Regions from separate parts of the Homo sapiens genome. Here region 2 is linked to region 1. Evidence: promoter capture Hi-C in human tissues and cell types (Jung and others, 2019). All regions are on one chromosome and are shown on one strand. The core of a region is centred on a gene start or on the middle of the fragment in contact, and the rest is flanking DNA. Distances in the headings are between cores, read along the strand shown.

Region 1 (2,970 bases), core at 81-2,580:
ACCGACACGGAGACGAGAGCCATGCAAAAACACTCAGTTTCCGAGCCCCAGCCAGGACAGTGCGAGTGAGTATCCTGCTTTTCTTTGTGGTTAGAATCAAGTGTCATCTAAAAATAACCGGTTGGTAGGAAGAAGTCACTGCATAGTACAATGCCAAGAAACCCGGGGATCAGAGAGTCCTCCGATAACTGATGCTGCTCGGGGCTCACGTTTGTTTGGAAAACTAAATCTGCCTCCATTTTCTGTGCCGGAAAAATCATCGCTTCCTGCCACCACAGAAACCTTACCTTTTGCAGAAGCTGGGAACCGGAGTACTTAGCAGCAATGGATTTTATCTCCCCACCAAAAGCCGAGGCCCAGAGCTTCACCCTACAGGGAGAAGGGGCACAGGAAGATATGTAACACCCGTGTCACAGTCAACACGCACGCACACGCACACGCACACATGGGACTATGGCTGAAGGAGCAGTGCGATGTAACATGTTTTAAAAGAAGAAAAGATAGAAAAAGCGGCTTGGTAGAAACTGCCAGCACCAAAACTGCAAAGCGCAGCGCGGGAGGGGGCCCGAGGGGGGTCGCGGAGTTAAGAATGCGCAAAGTCTCCCAGGCTCTCTAAAAAGACCACTGAGTTTCATTCGAACCACTGCCCGAGGACTCGACCCCCCAAACTGGGCATCACCTGGCAAATAGCAGTCAGAAGAAATCCACCCATCCCCCCCCCAAAAAAAGAAGTGGGGCGGCAGTAGAGCAAAGAGGGGGGAAATTCAGCGGCCCATGGAAGTTGGATTCGGTAACCAGGCTCCAAAGTTGGTGCCGTCACTTGAGGTGAGCCTCTCCAGATCTCACTCGGCAACCTGCGGGCAGGGGCCAGAGCATCCCACCCCGGCCTCGCCGCCCGACGCGGGTCCCGAAAGGCAGGTGCGAGCGGCGAGGCCGACGCCCGCGGCGGGTCCTGCCCAGCCGCACCTGCAGGCGCCCAAACTTGGGCACAGTGGGTCGCAGGCGGCAAGGTCCCCTCCCCGGGCGGCGCAGGAGCCGGCACTTACACGGAGAGCGGTATCTGCTGCTCCGAGCGCACCACGTCCCCCAGCGCGGCGTAGAGAAGCGCGGCAGCGAGAAGCGCCGAGGCCCCCCGGGACGCGCGGCGCGGCGAGCCCGGCCCGGCCATGCTGGGCTCCCTCCGACGCGCCCGCTGCGGCGGCGACGAGAGCGGCCGCGGGGAGCTGCGCGGAGCGGGCGGTGGGCGAGCGCGCGGGGCTGCCTGCTCCGCTCCGCGCCGCCCCGCCTGCCTCTCGCGCGCCCGGCTCACTTGGGGAGCAGAAAAAGGAGCGGGTGGGGGGGGCGGGGAGGGCGGAGAGGAGAGGGAGGGAGGAGAGGTGGGGAGGGAGGGAGGAGAGGTGGGGAGGGAGGCGGGCGGGGGAGGAGGCAGCGAGACGCGCCTCTAGCAGCAGCAGCCGCCCGGCCCCGCCTCGGCGGCCCCGGGGAGTCCGGCGGGCCGCGGCGGGAGGGCGGCGGGGCAGGAGGCGCCGCGCGGGCGGGGACTCGGAAACTCCAGTGTCCTTGGCCGCGGCGGAGCGCGCCCTGCCCCACCCGGGCTACTGCGGCCGCTGAGTTCTTTACAACTCCGCAGTCCGCCACCGCGGGCGCGACTCTGGGGCTGGCCCCGGGCCGGGCGACCCTAGCCAGGGTGGGGGTTGGGGGCGCGGGAGGGAAGCCGAGGGCAGGGCGCGGCGCTCCGCACTTTGCGGGCGGCTGCTAGGAGAGGGCGTAGCATGCCCGCTCCGCCCCTGGGCCGGGCGGGGTCGGGGGCCGCGGAACCTAAAGGGGGCGCGCCCTCCGCCCCCGCCGCGCGATTCTCCTGCGGGGAGGGAGCTGGGGAAGAAGCAGAAATCTCAGAAAGGAGCACAGGCTCGCGGCGGCAGGCGGGATCGCACGCGGGGCGGATCGGGCTGGGGATGGGACTGGGTGGGAGCTCGGGGCTCTGGCTAGGGCAGCGCTGCGTGACCGCCCGCAGCTGCTCCTCCGGCCGCGGCGCCCGACAGGGGAAAGCACGGAGGGCGGTGCTGCCACCACGGCTTGGGCGCACCAGCGCGGGGCTCCCGGCATCCGGCCGCAGCGCAGCGGCCCCCTGCGCGCCCGACCCAGGCCCCGGGGCTCCCCAGCGGCCGCTGCCTTCGGAGTCCGCCCGGCTGCGGTGACTGGTGGGGACCGGGATGTCAGGGTTGAGCGAGGAAGCCAACGCGGCGCCGAGTCGATCCTGACCGGGGGACACCCTGGATTTCGGGATAAAAGATTTCTCCGAGCCTGGGGGATTGCCTGCTCCCCACTCCGGCGCCCACCGCACTGGGCAGGAGGCAGTGAGCGCCGGAGGAGGCGCCTTCTCGCCGCCCTCAGGGGCGAGGAGAAAGGAAGCCGGAGAAGCCCCTGCGCGTTCTGGGAACCAGGCTTCTCCCCGCCTCTCTCGCCGCTGCCCCCACCCCGGGACCCAGCTTGCAGAACCCCTCTCCCCCGTGCGAGGTATGGGGTGTGATTGGGAACTTTGTGGAGCCCTCGCGCAGGCTGGCGGTAAAGACCGACCGGAGTGAGGCTGAGTCATCCTTGCCCGGCCAAGCGCAACTCCGGTGACCCCAGCAAGGAGTGCGCTCCTAACGTCGCCGGGGCTCCCGGCGCACCAGACACCTGGGTTCATATTTGCATGCCTTTCTGCAACCAGGGCTTTGCTTTCTGCCCCGTCACCCGCCCTTGGCCTCAGCATCCTCAGGTTGCAGGGAAGTAAGGGCGGGCTCCAGCTTCCGCCAGGTGGTGTCCGGCTAGGAGCCAGGCCGGCTCTCCTTTCCAGTAGTCCCTGGAAAAAGTTACCCCTGCAGATGTTGGGCTTGATCTCAGAGTTGGCAGCGAGGGAGAAGGACTGCTACCGAGAGGCTCTTAGTGCTTTTCCCGAGTGCGGGCAGACCCGAGCTCCCCTGGGCT
Region 2 (3,024 bases), core at 40-2,539, 190 kb after region 1:
TAAAAGACACTAAACCCAACAACTACAGAGTACATATTCTTTATAAATGCACCTGATACCTTCATCAAGATAGAACATATATAGGGCCATAAAGAAGTCTCAACACATTTAAAATTATTTAAATCGTACAGAATTTTTTTTTTTTTTAGACAGAGTCTCACTCTGTCACCCAGGCTGGAGTGCAATGGCATGGTCTCAGCTCACTACAACCTCTGCCTCCCGGGTTCAAGCGGTTCTCCCACCTCAGCCTCCTGAGTAGCTGGGACTACAGACGCGCATCACCACACCCAGCTAATTTTTGTATTTTTAGTAGAGATGGGGTTTCACTGTGTTGGCCAGGCTGGTCTCAAACTCCTGACCTTGCGATCTGCCTGCCTCGGCCTCCCAAAGTGCTGGGATTACAGGCGTAAGCCACCGTGCCCAGCCTCAGAATTTACTATTTAATTCCAATGGAATTAATTCAATGCTAGAGGGAAACATAGCTTTAAATGCTTATATTAGAGAGTAATAAAAATCTAAAACTCAAAGTTTCCAACTTAAGAAACTAGGAAAGAAGAGTAAATAGAAAATAACAGAGAGAAAGGCAAATATTGTTGAAACAGAAAACAGATAAACAGTGGAGAAAACTAACAAAGGAGGAATATGGTTCTTTGAGAAGATCAACAAAATGGATAAACCTATAGCCAGACTAATCAAAAGAAAATAAAAAATGCCAAGCACTAATATTAAGAAGACGTTAAAATATGATAAGAAAAAGTTATGAACAAATTTATGCTAATTTGACAACTTAGATGAAATAAAATTCCCTTAAAAATGCAACTTTTCAAAATGGTCAAAAAATATAACAGAAATTATTAAATAGCTTTATGTTTCCTAAAGAAGTTGAGTTTATTTCCAAAAACTTTCCCATAAAGAAAATTCAAGGCTCAGATGGTTTCGCTTGTGAGGTGTATGAAATGTTTAAGTAAGAAATAATATAAATGTTACACAACCTTTTAAAAAAACTAGACAGAGAGGAATAACTTTCCAACTTGTTTTCTGATAACTCCGATTTAATATATACATACTTGCCCCCTCTCATTACATCTTTTCACCAATGTACTGGAGGCCTTAGTCAGTGCAATGAGGCAAAGAAAAAGAAATAGAAAGGCAAAAGCTACAACTGTCTCTATTTAGAGATGACATGCTTGTTTACATAGGAAATCCTATGAAATCTACAGAATGACTGCTAGCACTAAGTGAATTTAGCAAAGTTATAGTATGCAAGGTTAGTATACAAAAATTAATTGTATATATAGAGAGATACATAAACAAACAGGGCAGGGCACGGTGGCTTGCACCTGTGATCCCAACATTTTGGGAGGCAAAGGTGGGAGGATTTCTTGAACCCAGGAGTTCAAGATCAGCCTGGGCAACAAAGTGAGACCCCATCTCTACAAACAATTTTTTTTTTTTAATTAGCCAGGTATGGTGGCATGTGCCTGTAATCCCAGCTAGTTGGGAGGCTGAGGCAGGAGGATTGTTTGAGCCCAGGAAGTTGAGGTTTCAGAGAGCCATGATCACACCACTGTACTTCAGCCAGCCTGGGCGACAGATTGAGACCTTGTCGCAACAAACAAACAAACAAAACAAACAAACAAACAAACAAAAAACACCTTCTTGCTGACAGGTCTGGAAAAAAATTTGAAAAAAAATTAAAAACAATTTCATTTGCAATACTTTTCTAAAAACCAAGATACTTAGGGGTAAAATTAACAAAAAACATGTAAGATCTCTATGCTGAAAACTATAAAACATTCTGAGAGAATTTAAAGACAATCTTAACAAACAAAGATGCATTCATCCAGTAATACTGGATGTCTCTATCTTACTAGCATGTTAATTCTCCCCAAATCGATCTACAGATTTAAAGCCATTTCAATAGAAATTTCAGCAAGCTTTTTGGGTAGAAACTAACAAGCTGATTCTAAAATTTATTTAGAAATGGAAAGGACCTAGATTATCCATAGAAATCTTGAAAAAGAATAAAGTTGGAAAGTTAAAATGAATTTTAAAAATTAAATATTGATGGATGAGTGTAGAGATGTATTGATGGAGATATAAATCAAGTATAATAAAATGTTAACAGTAGAAACTAGAGGGTAGATAAATGGGACTGGCTATAAAATCATTTCAATGTCTCTTATGCTTGAAAAATTACATAATAAAGTGTTGAGGAAAACATATGAATCTTTATTGAAGGTCTTTTGAAAAGGATAGGTTAGATCACAAAACACAAACCAAAACCTCCTGAAAATTCTCTACTCGTCTATGTCCTCAAAGTCCCATATCTAGCTTATCAGTAAGAATATCCATTGTTCTTCTGTTCTAGAACGAAAGGAAATGTACGTAACTGATTGATTGATTGATTGATTATTTTGAGACAGAGTCTCGCTCTGTCGCCCAGGCTGGAGTGCAGTGGTGCGGTCTCCACCCACTGCAGCCTCCACTTCCTGGATTCAAGTGATTCTCCTGCCTCAACCTGCTGAGTAGCTGGGACCACAGGTGCATGCTACCACACCTGGCTAATTTTTTGTATTTTTAGTTGAGATGGGGTTTCACCGTGTTAGCCAGGATAGTCTTAACCTCCTGATCTCGTGATCTGCCCACCTTGGCCTCCCAAAGTGCTGGGATTACAGGTGTGAGCCACCGCGCCCAACCAAATGTACCTAATTTTTTTTTATATGAAGGGACATCTCAAATATAGATATCAAAAGCAGAGCCAAGTGCAAATACAAAAGCCAAGGGCAAGTGATAAATTACTTTCCTTACTTAATAATCACATGTTGTTTCTGATCTCAGATAGTAAGTCCATGGATACCTATGTATCTATATTAGTCTTGGTTCCAAGTAACTACAATGTATTTCCAAAAACCAAATTTACACTAAAAAAATGAGATAGTTTCATCACTAAGGAAATCTGAACTAATATGTCTAAGGCTAAGCAGGACATTTGTAAGGAACAGTTCCAAATATGTTGTACAC

The links. The method cuts DNA at HindIII sites, captures the fragments that hold promoters and counts their contacts. A contact is called where the count stands out against the background at its distance.
Region 2: a fragment that was not itself captured here is called in contact with the fragment with the promoter of CACNA2D3 in region 1 in 1 of the 25 tissues and cell types used here (dorsolateral prefrontal cortex).

What each region holds. Positions count from the first base shown.
Region 1 is chr3:54,120,912-54,123,881 of GRCh38, reverse strand. CACNA2D3 (calcium voltage-gated channel auxiliary subunit alpha2delta 3) reads right to left here and starts at 1,330. Exons shown (of 38, transcript NM_018398.3): 1 at 1,047-1,330; 2 at 288-369. The coding sequence starts at 1,168. It overlaps LOC124909381 (a long non-coding RNA gene), which reads left to right and starts at 440. Exons shown (of 2, transcript XR_007095914.1): 1 at 440-825. RefSeq lists a silencer at 2,524-2,573. The HindIII fragment of the contact is 8,759 bases long and covers 1-2,970 here.
Region 2 is chr3:53,930,065-53,933,088 of GRCh38, reverse strand. No RefSeq gene overlaps it. Among named protein-coding and RNA genes, the nearest start is that of SELENOK, 40 kb to the right of the region's middle. The HindIII fragment of the contact is 6,438 bases long and covers 1-3,024 here.